3 separate regions of the Homo sapiens genome follow, and all the other regions are linked to region 1. The links are contacts of gene promoters, found by promoter capture Hi-C in human tissues and cell types (Jung and others, 2019). All regions are on one chromosome and are shown on one strand. Each heading gives the region's core, a stretch centred on a gene start or on the middle of the fragment in contact. The rest is flanking DNA. Distances are from core to core; before and after follow the strand shown.

Region 1 (5,161 bases), core at 880-3,379:
TGAGCCCATTAGACTAGTATGGACAACATGGTAGGACCCCATCTCTACAAAAAATCCAAAAAACTAGCCAGGTGTGGTGGCACACACCTGTAGTCCCTGCTACTCAGGAGGCTGAGGTGGAGGATTCCTTGAGCCTGGTAGGTCAAGGTTGCAGTGAGCTGAGATCACGCCACTGTACTCCAGCCTGGGCAACAGAGCCAGACCCTGTCTCAAAATAAAAAATAAAAATAAAAATAAGACAAGGAAACATCTACAATGCTGCAGCTACCCTCCTCCTCAGCTAGCCAGTTATTACACAAAAGAAACTGAACATGGGAGATAAACCAGCATAAATGCTTCCCCACTGTGGGGTGGTTCTCCAAGCTCATGCTTAGCTGCAAATGAGGTCCAGCATCCTTTGTATCATCAGTGAACAATGAGACAGACCTGCACATCTTGGCAAAAAAAGCTCTTGTGCATGTCCCCAGAGTACCCGCTACCCAATCCAGCATCCAGAGTCCAACCACTCCGGACCCAGGACCAACTGCTCAGGTTCCTCCCAGACCCAAGGCTCCTGGCCCACTGAGAGTGGGAGAAAAAGGGGTAACCTCACTCTGGGCAGGAAGGAAAATTCCATGCTGCCCTAGAGCACTGTGGTGCCAGCAGCATCATCCTCCACAGTCCCACAGTGTGCAGGCGGGGAAGAGACTAAGAGAATCACGGAAGAGAGAAGGAGGTCAAGAATTTAAGAGAAAAGAAAACAGTTCTATTAGAACCCTAAATGCCTTGTAGGAACCTAGTAAAGTCACCAGATGCACCTACACTTCTCCCAGAGACTTGCATTGTTGATTCCTGATTCTTTGAAGTGTGGGCGGGGTTCCCCAAATGGTCCTCCTAAGCCCACCATCTGGAAATAATTTATTGATAAGTGCATTTTGACAAAAAGTATTCCATTCAGGTGGAGAAGAACACAGCCTCTCTTGGAAGGGGGATGCAGCTCCAGGGCAGGCTCTCAAAGGCTGTGGGGTGGGCGGGTCATTGCATATACTCTGGTCTTTGCACTTGGGGAGAGGAGGGATGGTAAAAACCAACGGCCTGAGGTCTGGCATCATGCCCACTGCCCAGGTGTTTCCCTACACCCACCCAGCTCCCTGAATCACAACAGCTAATTTTACTCCCTCTAGACTCTAGTAGAGCTGGGTCTTCTCCTTCTGGCTACGAAATAGAAAGTGCCCCGCACCCCAACACACACACCCCAATCTAAAAAAAATATATATCCTTGAAACCATTTCCCCATCAGCCCATCTTCACATCTGCAATGCCACTCCTAGAAATTCAGTCCTTTGGGTCTTGAAGGGTTTTAGTTCCATAAGTTCCAGGGAGGGGTCTACCTCAACCATTGACAACTCACATCTCCTGAGAAGTTTATCCAAAACTTTCCAACTGCAATCATCGGCGAACAAGGTCCCTCAACAATGGGACCCCAGTTAACGCGAAGGAGGCAGAGCGAGGTAAGGAGCTTAAATGAGGAGTATGGAGTAGGAACAAGTCTGCAAAGCCCGCGCCCCAGCTTCGCCTGGGATGGCCAGGTCTGGCACTCGCGGGCCGCCTTCCCCGCCCTACCTTCCCGGAATCACATTTGGGCTGGAAGGACCTTCACGTGGCACCCCCTTCCCAGAGGCCGTCACCGAGTCCTCTAGCGAGGGTCTGGGAGCTGGGAGAAGGGTCCGCTTCTCCTCCGCCCCTCAAATCAAAGGCACCCCCTTCGGATGATTCCTAGAAAGGCAATCGCATCAGTGTCCCCAAGCACTTCATCTCCCCAAAAGAAAACTCGTGCAGCCTGGCGTCACTGGGGTCGTCTCCTTACGCCCCTGACTCCTCGCCGCACCCCGGGGCCCCTCTCCATTAGGGGAGTCGGGAGGCACAGACGGTGGGGGTCCCAGCCCCCACCCAGAACTCCCACCCTCGGAGCCTTGACTTCCAGGGCCCGCGCCTGGACAAAAGCATGGGGCGGGCTCACTCACCCGCGCGGCGAAGGCGGCCCGGGAGCCGGGGCACCGGCGCTCGGCGGGGCGCCCCGGCCGCAGGCGCACAGCGCGGGCTCCGAGCTCGCTCAGCGCCCTGCTGCCGACCGGGCGGCGCGGGGAGCCCGCGAGGCGCGTCCGGGACTGGGCAGGGCGGGGCGGGGCGGGGCGGGGCGGGGGTGAGCGAACCGGCGAGAGAGAGAGCAAGTGGGAGAGCGGAGAGCGGACGCGCGCTGAGGAGAGCGAGTGAGAGCGCGGCGCTACGGGGTCAGGACTCAAACCACCCGCTCCAGCCCCCATGCACTGATTTGCATGACATTTGCATAGCGCTCGGGGAGTGGACCTGCTGCCCTTCCCGCCACGCCCACCCGCCTTCTGCCTCGGAGTCCGGAGCGGAGAATCCGCAGCCAAACCTAGCGCCAGACCCGGGCCCCCCTCGCACTTATCCTGCACCGCCCCAGTTAACTCCTCGCAGGCGGCGGTCAGCGGGCTGGTACTGTCTTGGTGCGTGTCTTAGTCCTACACTGGGAGACCTAGGCCTTAGGTCGGGGTCTGATGCTAGCTTCGTGAGCGTGCATGAGACACTGGCTGCCTCTGGGCCTCAGTTTTCTAATCTGTAAAATGAAGATGTCAGCGGAACCATGGGGCTAAAGTTTTAGTGCTGGAAGGTTGTCTATGTAGTTTTTTTCAGACATCCTCCAGTGGTGCAACTCAGCCCCATGGTTCCTCTGACATCCTCCCTTTGTGTGTGTTAAGAATCTCTCATTGGTTTGGAAGATACCTACAAAGTTCTTTAAATTAAAAAAGGGGAAAGGGGAGGGGGGGGAGGGGAGGGGGAGGAGGTGTTTCTGGTTTTGGCTTGCTTTATATTTAGTTTGCACCCAATATGAAATATTTTATAGCTTCTGATCTCTTCACTTGGACCTTCTTTTGTTTTTTTTAAAAAAACTGTTTACTGCAGGTTAAGGAGTGTTTTTAAAAATTTTTTAATTGTAAAATAAAACATAAATACAGAAAACCACAAAAAACAAATATATAGATATATAGACTAGTGAATTATTATAAAGGGAACATCCTTGTAATCACCACCTGGATCAAGAAATAGAACTCTGCCAGCCACCCCAGGAGCCTCTCCATGTGCCCTACCTCAATGACAACCCCCTTTCTCCCTCCTCCCAAAAGTAACCACTAACCTGACTTTCATGTAGTCACTTCTGCTGCTTTTGTTTTTCTTGGTATCTTCCAAGGGTGCACCTTACCCCTCCCCCCACTCTTTTTTTTTTTAATTTGATTTGCCTTTTCAGTCTTTTCCTTACAATTATTTGTTAAATAACTTAAGCCCTTGATCTGTGAGGTTTTCCAGAGTCTGGGGGTTGCACATTCATGAGGCAATTCAGCATGTTTCTCTGTCCTCTGTATTGACAGCAAGTTGGCAGCTGATCCAGGGTCTTCCTCAGACTGAAGTTTGATGTCTTTTGTAAGATTATAGATGGTTGTGTGTTCTTTTCTTCAAGAGGTACATGATCATGATGTCTGGTGTTTGCTCTTTTTTGAGGTTAACAGCCGTCGATGCTCAATTCCTAGATTCATTAATTAATTGAAGTTTGCAAAATCATGGTATTCTAATAATTTTGTTTTCATTTATTAGTTCATAAGTGGATAAGGAGATGCTTCCTCTCATCTACTATTTGATTACCCTGAGATAGGAAAGGCACGATGAATACCTGCTTTTTTTTAAAAAAATTACCCAGTTTTCAAGTTAAGGAATTGATTCTCTGTCATTCTTAGATTTCTTTAATATCATTATAAATTCATGAATTTAAATATATTTGATAGGTTTCCATCTACGATATTAGAGCTCAAATTGTCCCATCTTTGGCCAGTAGGAGCTTCTTCAATATGGCTCCTGGCTCCTTTTGATAAGATTCTAGTAGTCTTTTTTTTTTTCTCTCTCTCTCTCTCTCACTAGTGTGCAAAGAGCTTCAAAGACCCTAGAAGTCTTTGATAGCTTCCTTGCTATCTGATATGACAAGATGTTCCAGGCACATCTGTACATTTGCTGCCTCAAACCTGGAATCAGCCATTTCTCCAAGAAGCTCTAGTTTTTTTGTTTTTTCTTTCCTTCCTTCCTTCTCTCTCTCTTTTTCTTTCTTTTTTTCTTTCTTTCTTTCCTTCTTTCCTTCTTTCCTTCTTTCTTTCTTTCTTTTCTTTCAGATGGAGTCTCACTCTGTCACCAGGCTAGAGTGCAGTGGCACGATCTCGGCTCACTGCAACCTCCACATCCCTGGTTCAAGGGATTCTCCTGCCTCAGCCTCCTGAATAGGTGGGATTATAGGCACGTGCCACCACACCCAGCTAATTTTTGTATTTTTAGTAGAGACGGGGTTTCATCATGTTGGCCAGGATAGTCTCAATCTCTTGACCTCGTGATCTGCCCACCTCGGCCTCCCAAAGTGCTGGGATTACAGGCATGAGCCACCCCGCCTGGCCAGAAGCTCTAGTTTCTTTTGTTGAAATTTTAAGATAACAATATGAGCACTAGGAGTATTCATTGTTACTAGGTTGGTAACTGTTTCTAGGCCTTTTCAATAGACAGAGCTACTAAAGAATACTTCATTTTTTTATATTCTAGAGAAATATTATTCTTCATAATATTTTCATCAGTTTATATTATTTCCAATTTAATTTCAGGACTGTAGTTTTTACTTAACATATATTACATTAGGACCTCTTTTCTTTCATGTAGAGAATTCTGGTTCTCAAGGACAAAAGGGAGGATGAAATTAGAATATCCCAATTTACTAATTTGCTTTAGTTTGCATTAAACATATAATAATAATCTCAGAATAACAATATTAATACTACCATCATCAGTTTTGATTCTTGAAAACAGTTTTTTTTGCATATGCTATCCATCTTTTATAGTTATACTCTATCTAAATTATCAGCTTCTATAGCCATCTATACCATAATCTTCCTATTTAACCCTAATTTAGTCTTAATTTTACAGTTCTACAATTCTAATCCTAATTAAAGTTCAAATATATATTTAATGCTTACCATTAGTTCCTTATGTTTATGTATCTTTAGTCATTTTGGTTGTCTGAAAGCTTGTCCTCTACTAGATTCCTTAGGAAGGGCTCATGGAAAGAATATGC
Region 2 (5,161 bases), core at 1,494-3,993, 41 kb before region 1:
CTTATGAGACAGGTCTCAGGTAATGTTAGAAGATGGAGTACGAAGAAACAGATACATGGTGGAGACTTCAAACATATAATGAAATTATATTCATGATATGCTGTTCCAGAAAGAGCTTGTTACATATAGGCAGATTTCTATTGAATAAAAGAGGAGCTTCTTACTACCGGACCTCTGGACAAAGGCAGCAGCTTCATATTTCAGGTGGTAGATTCTTAAAACCACAAGTGTTCAAAAGGTCCTGGACAACTATCTGTGAAGGATGCTATGAAAGGTCTCCTATCTTAGATGGGAGTATAGACTTGATGAATTAAAAGTTCTTCCTAGTGCTATAAAATAGTAGAGACAGAAAATCCAGTTGGCCTAACTAATGTTTATTAAGAGCTTGGTAAGGAAATATGAGATTAATCTATATTTTAAAAGTCATATTGCCTATCTTTACATAGTTTACACTAATAATTTAGTAGAGATGTATATTTCTATGGAATACCTTGTAAAAATATTTTTCTGTATATCCCTTTCTCCCTGCTTCTCACTCTAAAGAAGCTGATAAGTGATAGCTTAGTCCTTGCCTCATTAATACCTTCAACCACTCATTTTCTGTCAGTTCCTTTTTTTCCGTCTTCAGACATCCTCTCTTAAAAATACCAACAATGAGACCTACTCCCTTTTCTAGCTACCATCATATTTCTAGCCTTTCTTTCCACTCATATGTTTTCAATGAGTCATCAACATCTCCTGCCACAATTTCCTTTCCACCCACTCCCTCTTTAACCCCCTACAATCAATCCAGTTCTTTTATACACCACCTACAAGGTCAGAATGCTAGGGTTTAGAGAGTCTGAGAGTGTCAGGAAGATATAACATTTGTACCCAAGGAGCTAATCAGAAAAAATCTACTTAAATCATCCAAATATCCACTAGGAAGAGACTAGAGACAGGGGTTAAAAAAGAGAACTAACATTTATTAGGTATCTTCTGGTATACTGTTGTGGTAGATTATCTCCCATCATGGCCATCAGCAATTCATCCATCCAGGTATACTCATGTCTCTCCAACTCTAACTTTATCAGAAATCACAATAAATATAAATGGACCAAATTCACCCATTAAAAGACAGATAAAATATTATTATACAATATTATATACAATATCTATCTATATCTGTAGCTATATATTCCACCTATATACTATTCATAAGATGAACCTAGAAAACACAAAGGCATTGAAAATAATAAATGAAAAAATAAGTTAGGCAAAAACTAACCATAAAAGAGTTGGAATAAGTAAATTAATATCAGACAAAAGACTTTAATATAATTAATCAGAAAGAGAATCACTATATAATAATAACAGAAGTGAGATAAAGAGGTAGAGAATACCCCTGGCATCATCAGTTTTAGAAATGGGGGTCTAGTAACTATCTCCAATATCACAGCTCAGAATCAGGCCAATTCTGCTCAATTTAATCCAATCTCACAATTATTTGTGTGAAAACTCCCAAATTTGTCACCATGGGCAAAAAAGCTTAATCTAATAGACATATATAGAACCCTATGCCTGATAATTACAAAATATGCATTACTCTTTTCAAACACATAGAAAATATTTTCAAAAATTAAACTGCAAAAGGCTATAATGCAAGTCTCAACAAATTCCAAAGAATCATATAGTCAATAACAAAAAACAAGATCAACTTGTCTGTTCATTTCCTCTGCCAATATCTTATCTCTCTGAAACTGCCTTATTCATTTGTACTTCTCTTTTGACATTGTTCATAGACATTGTGTCCATTTATGCAACACATTTGTATTAAATACTTACATACCAGTCAGTGTTCTAAGCATAGGGGATACATTAATGAACAAAGCAAAATAGACAAAGATCTCTCCTTTGAGGTGCTTACATTTCTAGCGTCACTTCTATCACTAGACTGCAAGTGCCCTAAGGCAAGACTATGTCTAATCCAGATTTGGCTAGCTCCCAATGTGCTGCTGGGACGGACACCATGTCGGATCTGACAAGGTACAGAACCCACACACTCTGATATTTAAGACAGAGGGCTTGCTGAGGCTTAAGGTATGATCTTCGGATAGTGTGGAATACAGCTTATCAGGCAGGGACCTAGAACCAGAAGGAGTAACAGACTCAACACACCCCTCACAACTCCCGTATCAGTAATTCAATAGCTCAAGTCTCAGCAGTCCATGGGTCAAAGCAAACTGAAGTCTAAACCATGTTGTCAAAGCAAAGATGCCGAAGACCAGATGTCAAAAATACTGGAAACAATGAAATCAGACAGATTAGGAGAAATAATCATATATTTTAATATGTCCTTGCAAATTGGGGCACAGTTTAAAGAGGCCAGATAAGCCAAGTGACTAGTGACCACATCTCACAGGTCTGTCTGGTTGTAAGGGCCCTTTCATCCTTCCTCTATGAGATAAGAATGAACATCCAGGTCTAAGAGCATCCAAGCTAGGGAGCAGGACAAGGAGACTATATATGTAGCTTGCTTCAAACAGATTCATGTTCTAATAGGAATAAAGGTAAGGTGGCTGGCTTTACAGAAAACTCTGCTACATTCCAGAATGGCAAGTTAACAGGCAGCATAACCAAGAAAAGGGCCTGAAAAAGAGAGATGCCTCCAACTTCTGACACAGGTTTAAAAGAAGACTGGTTCCTTCTGCAGAGACACATCCCTTTCCAAAGGCCGTATCAGTCCAGAGAGAAAGACCAAAACAAAAGCCCCACAGCAAGAAACAGGAAGGAAGGGGAACTATTCAAATTCCCTGCCCCTCTCCTCCATAGCACACAATAGCTGGGACCTCTACTGGGGCATCATAGCTCCAAAGGAATCCTTCTGACATGGTGTTTTCTGTTTTTTAAGCCTCTGTTTGAGCACTGTCACTATGGCAACAAGGCTGGGATGCTTCTGCTCTAAGTGAGAGGGCTTATCCCTTCAAATATGCTTCTTGAGTCAGCAACAAAGGAACTCACTGAACCTCAACTAATCTCATATTCTCCTTGGAGACCTCTCTTAAAAGGCATTTTCCCTCCTTGCTCCCACAAATCTTCTAGGTTTATGCTCTGTGTTCAGCCAACAACCACATTCACATAATGATTGAGTTTACTCTCACACACCTATCTCGACCAAGCTCTGAGGTGTCCTCTTTAGTCACATAAGCCTCTCCCATACCTATTAAACAGAGACAAAGCAAGGACCTTGGTTTGGGGGAGGCCTCCCAGGAAGGCTAGTGGACATGGGCCCCCAAGCTAGGATGGAACAGAGGAATGAGGGGTAGGAGGAGCAGGAAGCCAACTTGTATAACTTTCTTTTCCAGAGGGAGGAATCCATGGTGGCATGTAGCCCTGGCAGGCCTGATCCTCACCACCTGGATCTGTCCTCAACCTGTCCTAGGCTAGCTGCTCTGTCTTGGCTCAGGTTCCACATCATTCCCAGCCACAGCTCTTTCAAGAGTAAAAGTTGGCTCTGGGGAATACATCCTCCCTGCCTTCAGAGGGGTCTTCCTTAGTCATGAGTTCTTAGAATCCTAAAATATAGGCCTACCTCTTATTAGTTTTATTACCTTAGGGAAGTCACTTAACCTTTCTAAGCCTGTTAACTCATCTTAAGACAGGAGCAATTGACCACTCCATCGGGTTGTGATAAAGACGGAGGGGCAGGCATACATTCTACAACTCTTAGTTCTGTCTGCACCCAGCCCACTCTTCCCTCAGAAGCAGACAGTGTCTAATCTTAGGAAGGTCTGTAAGCACAGAGAAAAAAAGATGCACCAACCTCACCTTGATAACTCCAGCTCCAGTGTGTGTCACCATTTCTGGGTAATATATAACTCTTCTCCTCAGTTGTTTTTTTTTTTTTTTTTTTTTTTTTAAAGACAGGATCTTGCTATGTTGCCCAAGCTAGCATGCAGTGGCTATTCACAGGTACAATCATAGTGCACTGTAGCCTTGAACTCCTGGCCTCAAGCAATCCTCCTGCCTCAGCCACCTCAGTAGCTGGCACTGCAGGCATGAGCCACAGTGCCTGACCTCTCCACTAGTTTTCAAAGCAAACAAACAAATAAGAGAGGGTATTCAGTCTCTTTTGCCTTTATTGTAAGAGACAATGAGGTGACAGCAAAGATAATTCTAGGAAGCAAACTTCTGGGTTCTAGTCCTTTTTGCTCACTGAGTTCCTCAGCCTATCCTCCAGAGGACTGACCTCCCTGTGGAAAGGGGCTGCACAGGGCACTCTGTTAGGGTCCATTCCAACTCTAAGATCTCTGGGTCTTAGGTGAGTACCAAATGACCCATGAAATTGGAATAAAGAAGACTTTGCAGAGAGACTGGTACCCTCTAGGAGTGTCCTAAAACAGGGCAGATGAGACATGCAGGACACAAAGACTAGAAGCATCATTTATACCCAGGAAATATTTACCGCAAGGACATGTCAGGAGTCCATCCACCTCAGGGACAGAGTTCAAAGTTGACAATGCTGGGGAAATAGACATGAGCACCTTTTGGGTTTTCGTTTTGTTTTGTTTTGTTTTTTTGAGACAAGGTCTCACTCTGTTGCTCAGGTTGGAGTGCAGTGGTGCAGTCACAGCTCACTGCAGCCTCAAACTCCTGGGCTCAAGCAATCCATCTGCCGTAGCCTCCCAAGTAGCCAGGACTACAAGTACACACCACCATGCCCAGCTATATTTTTTTATTTTTTAGAGACAGGGTCTTGCTCTGTAGCGCAGGCTGGAGTACAATGGCAATCATAGCTAACTGCAGGCTCAGATTCCTGGACTCAAGCAATCCACCCATCTCAGCCTCCCAAATAGCTAGGACTACAGCTACACACTTCTATGCCCAGCTAATTCAAGCCATTAAAAAATTCCACCACCTCCCCACTGTTTAAAATAAATGTTTTATTTGGGAATAACATTATATTCTTAGAAAAATTTCAGACATGATACAGAGTCCCTGGTACTCTTCACTCTGTTTCCCCTAATGTTAATCTATTACATCACCATGGTACATTTTTCAAAACTAAGAAACCAGACTTTATTTGGATTTCACCAGTTTTTTAACTGATGTTATTTTTATGTTCCAGGATCTAATCCAAGATACCTCATTGCATTTAGGATAAAGCACTTTTTAATGGTGA
Region 3 (5,161 bases), core at 1,060-3,559, 50 kb after region 1:
TTTCCAGTTGACATTTTAAGCATTAATTTTTTAAACCCTTTTAAAAGAAAGAATACATAATCCTTTTAAAAGAATAATACATGTACAAAGTTAAAAAATTCAAACACCACAGAATGTCAATGATTCTCAATGAAGAATCTCCCTTCCACTCCTCCTCTCTGTCCCCAGAGACAATCAGTATTAATTTTGGTATCTTTCGTGAAAACACTTTTACATATGGTATTAATTACACTACATACACACACATACTATACACAATTTCTAACTTTGCCTTTTTTTCCCATAAGACTGTTGTATACAAACACATAGATCTATCACGTTCTTTTTCATGGCGATAAAAGTATATGGCACCATTTGTTGAGCAAATACATGCTCAGCGAATGCTTCCTATGTGTGAGGTATTGTATTAGAATCTGAATATACAGAGATGAACAACACAGACGTGGCCCCTGTTCTCACAGAGCTGATAACAAACAAGTAATTATACACAGTAATGATCTCAAAGAAACAATAAGATAAATGATCAGATAATATAAATAAGAGAAGCTATTTAAAGTGGCAACTACTGATCTCCCCACTTGTCCTCTAGGCCTCCTCTCTCCTACCCTCTCCCTTTCCTCACCTTTGGTTAACAGTGGAGACACAGTGATAATTTCTGAATCACTCTGGTGAAACTGAACACTTTTATAAAGTGCTCATTCTGTTGGGCAATCATATTTTTTTCTTATTGATTTATAAGACATATTTATATATTAAGAAGATTAAGCCTTCATCATGTCATGTATTGTTTCTCCATTTTGCTTATGTTTTGAATGTATTTATAATTTTGCTATGTAGAAACTGAAAAAGTTTTCTGGGGACATATTTTATCAATCTGTTCCTCTGTGGCATTTGAGTCTTTGTCAGGCTTAGGAAAAGTTCCCCTCCAAAAAAATAAAAAAATAAAAATTCTTATATTTTCTTCTGGTACTATTATAGTTTCTTTATTAAGCTCTGTGATCATTAAGGACAATTTGGCAATATCTGTCACAATTGCAACTGTATATACCCTTTGGCTCAACAATTCTACTGCTATAAATCTATCCTACAAAAATGCTGGCCAGGCGTGGTGGCTCATTGTCTGTAATCCCACACCTTGGGAGGCCGAGGTGAGTGGATCACTTGAGGTCAGGAGTTCAAGACCAGCCTGGCCAACATGATGAAACCCTGTCTCTAATAAAAATACAAAAATTAGACAGGCGTGGTGGCAGGCGCCTATAATCCCAGACACTTGAGAGGCTGAGGGAAGAGAATCACTTGAACCTTGGAGGCAGAGGTTGCAGTGAGACACGATCGCACCACTGCACTCCAGCCTGGGCCACAGAGTGACGCCGTCTCAAAACAAACAAACAAACAAACAAACAAACAAACAAAGCTGACATATATGCACAAAGACATATACAAAGATTTTCACTGCAATGTTGTTTGCACTGGGAAAAAAGGGGAAAGTACTATTAGCAAAGGACCATATTATGGTAGACCTGGATAAGCAGAATACCCAAGTAATTCTTAAAGAGAAAGATGCATAATTATGTATTTTGATAGACAAAAGTGTCCATTATATGTTAAGTGAATAAACAGAAGCTGTGGAAAAGTATGTACAGTGTGATCTCATTTTTAAAAAAGTACATATATAGTTCTATTTGTGCCTGGCACACAGTAGGTATTCAGTAAGTGTTAAATAAATCAATTATATATGAAGAGAAGATATGTAAAAGGAAACACACTCCTGTATTTCAAAACAAACAAACAAAAAAAGGTGTATATTATTGGGAAGTGACAGCATCTTTTATTTTCTTATGTTTCTACAATATTTTAAATTTATCCCCTCAAAGTAATTACAAAAGCTCAATTCTTTATCAACATTTCCGGAGCCACAAATAATTTATCAATCCTTAAAGTTCTTTTACCTACATTCAAGGTTGCAATCCACAGCACCAGATGGTTTTTGAGTTTTCTGTTGTTCTCTGAGTTGCTGGTTCAAAATTCTCAACTGCCTAAAGAAATAATGAAGAACTATGAATGCAAGCATACCAAGCCAATTTAATAGTATACATGTGATAGCCTATCAAAAAAGATAAAACATAAACCCACTAAGACAGCAGAAGTCCATCTCATCCCCAAAAGACAAAAACTAAATAAACAAAACAAAAACAAAACCATACTACTATTATTATGAGGCCTGAGATAATTTTTAAGGTTGCCTGAAACAACATAAAACCTCCCCTCATGGGCCAGGCGCGGTGGCTCACGCCTGTAATCCCAGCACTTTGGGAGGTCGAGGTGGGCGGATCACCTGAGGTCAGGAGTTTGAGACTAGCCTGGCCAACATGGCGAAACCCCATCTCTACTAAAAATACAAAAATTAGCTGGGCGTAGTGGCGCGTGCCTGTAATCCCAGCTACTTGGGAGGCTGAGGCAGGAGAATTGCTTGAACCTGGGAGGTGGAGGTTGCAGTGAGTGAGATCGCACCACTGCATTCCAGCCTGGCGAAAGAGTGAGACTCTGCCTCAAAAAAAAAAAAAAAAAAAAAAAAACCCTCATGAGGAAAGTGTTAATTTCTCTTTTTTGTCTCTTCAGTGATTTGTTGTTTTTTTTCTATTTCTTTCCTTTTCTATCTGCTCATGCTGTTTCTCATCGTCTTTCTGTGTATCTTCATCACTGTAGTTAATCATCTACTTTTTAAAAGATTTGTCATTACTATCAACTAGAATACCTACAAGCACTGACTGCTATCAGACATCTATCTGCCTGATGTTTGTCATATGCTGAAACACAAATCTATGCTTCTAATAATTTTATTAGATGGAAAAGTTAATGGTCTTAAGTAACGAGAATATTAACAGGCTACAAATCTGCCCTGTTACAATGAACTTCACAATATGTATCTGCTTCACAAATAGAAACATATGCAAGTGTTTTCTTTACTTCTAAGAAGTTATCGCTTATGGGGACAAAAGTTACCTCTATTATCTTTCCAGAATTACTTACCTAAAAATATTTTGCCTTAAAATATTTATTTTTGGTACTAACTCTAAAATGATAGTACCCTACCTCACATCACTCACATATATTAATTTCGAGTTGATTAAAGTGATAAAATATGTAAACAAAACCCAACTATACAAGTTTTAGGGGGAAATCTACATAATCTTGAAGTCGGGAAGGCATTTCTAAGTGAAACTCAATATCCAGCAAGCATCAAGGAAAAGAACGAAAGATTTAACCATAGCAAAATTTGAAACCTGTAGAATTAAAAGCCTGAAAGAAAATACCTGCACATATGTTATAGACAAGGGGTCCATAACATTTAAAGAACTCCTACAAATCAGTAAGGAAGGCAACCTAGTAAAAAGTGACAAAGGATAAGAATGAGCAGTTCACCTAAGAAATAGAAATGGCCTATAAGCATATGATAAAAATGCTCATCTTCACTAACATGAAGAATTGCAAATTTAAAAGAAGGTACTTTTTGGCCATAGAATTGACAAAAATAAAAAGAAATAACATTTTCTGATGATAGTACAGGAAATGAATTAACTCAATTCATGTGATTATATCAGTATAACCATTCTGGATGGCAGTTTGAAATGTCCAACAAAATGTAAAATGTTCATAATCTCTGACAAAATTATTCTACTTCTAGGTTATCAAGCATCAGAAACAGTTTTACATGTGCAAAAGCATCTCCCACCTTGTAGATACATACAAGGATGTTCACAACAGCAATTATTTAATAGTGCCAAGTTGGAAACAACTTAAAATGCTACATAAATTATGGTACATCCATATATGAAATACTAATACACAGATAATAAAAAAAGCGAGAGGTCCACTTGTACTGACGTGAAAAGATCTCTGAGACACATTATGAAGTGAAAGCAGCAAGCTGCAGAACAACAGTATAATGTGAGCTTATTTTTGTTTTAATAAAATTCTGATTTTCTTTAAAGGTTTCCCCTTTACAACAGAAGCTTTCCTCGATAATCCTTTTGTATGTCCCTGGTCAGATTCTTCTCTTCCCAAACGTAACCAATCTAAACTTCTAATAATTCACTGCAAGCCTCTCATTCCTACCCTCCTCTTCTCAATTGTATACTTTCCTTTTTTCACTAAAAATAATGTGGTTTGGGGACAAACACAGTCATCCTTTGGTCCCAGGGTGTATCCATATGTGTATTAGCCCTCATTTTTTCCATCTAGTCTGATGAGTAGCCTTATCTGTGCCCTGGATCCCATTCTCCTCCTAGACCATCAAGGACTCTGCTCCTATCCCACTCCCTTTATCTTCTGTATCTGCAGTTTCTCCCTCTTTGCCAGTTCATGTGCCTAAGCCAAGAAACATATTAAAACTCTTCCCATATTTTAAAAAAATTCCCTCCAACCTAACTGTACAAGTAGCTACTTTCATTCCTCTCATTCCCTGCTTTCAGGGCTAGGCTTTTAAAAAAATATTCTATTTAAAATGATACATGATAAAAACAGAAAAAAGGATATTTTAAAAATTGATGTTACACATGCTATTTTAAGATATGTACGAAATTTAAATATACTGGATTTTAAAAAAGGAAAAGAACTGCTGCTACTTAGGCAAATATTTCTTTTATTCAAGTCATTCTTTTTTTTTTAGACAGCTTGAGATAAAACTGACATACTATAAACTACATAAATTTAAAGTGTGTCATTTTATTTTCTGCCATATGATGTAGTAAAACCACCATCACAATTAAGATATCCATCAGCAGCCATAAAAAAGAATGAGATCATGTTTTTTTGCAAGAACATGAAGGGAACTGGAGGCTATCATCCTTAGTAAACTAACGCAGAAACAAAAGCAAATACCACATTCTCACTTATAAGTGGGAGCTAAATGATAAGAACTTATTAACACAAAGAAGGAAACAACAGACACTGGGGTCTGGATGGTAGGAGGGAGGGGAAGGTGGTAGGAGGGAGAAAAGCAGAAAAGATAACTATTGTGTACTGGGCTTAATACCTGGGTGATGTAATAACATGTATAACAAACCTCCTGTGACACGTGTTTACCTATGTAACAAACCTTCACGTGTACCCTCAAAGCTAAAAATTTTTCAAAAAACATATTCATCACCCCTAAAGTTTC

The links. The method cuts DNA at HindIII sites, captures the fragments that hold promoters and counts their contacts. A contact is called where the count stands out against the background at its distance.
Region 2: a contact is called between a fragment that was not itself captured here and the fragment with the promoter of MYLK in region 1, in 1 of the 25 tissues and cell types used here (lymphoblastoid cells).
Region 3: a contact is called between a fragment that was not itself captured here and the fragment with the promoter of MYLK in region 1, in 1 of the 25 tissues and cell types used here (IMR-90 fibroblasts).

Annotation. Positions count from the first base shown.
Region 1 is chr3:123,882,203-123,887,363 of GRCh38, forward strand. It overlaps MYLK (myosin light chain kinase), which reads right to left and starts at 2,130. Exons shown (of 34, transcript NM_053025.4): 1 at 2,004-2,130. It also overlaps a transcript of CCDC14 not described here. RefSeq lists a silencer at 2,010-2,169. The HindIII fragment of the contact is 8,771 bases long and covers 1-5,161 here.
Region 2 is chr3:123,840,950-123,846,110 of GRCh38, forward strand. All of the region lies in intron 2 of MYLK (myosin light chain kinase), which reads right to left. Among named protein-coding and RNA genes, the nearest start is that of MYLK, 41 kb to the right of the region's middle. The HindIII fragment of the contact is 4,788 bases long and covers 350-5,137 here.
Region 3 is chr3:123,931,720-123,936,880 of GRCh38, forward strand. It overlaps CCDC14 (coiled-coil domain containing 14), which reads right to left. Exons shown (of 13, transcript NM_001366335.1): 10 at 1,954-2,036. Among named protein-coding and RNA genes, the nearest start is that of CCDC14, 27 kb to the right of the region's middle. The HindIII fragment of the contact is 6,144 bases long and covers 1-5,161 here.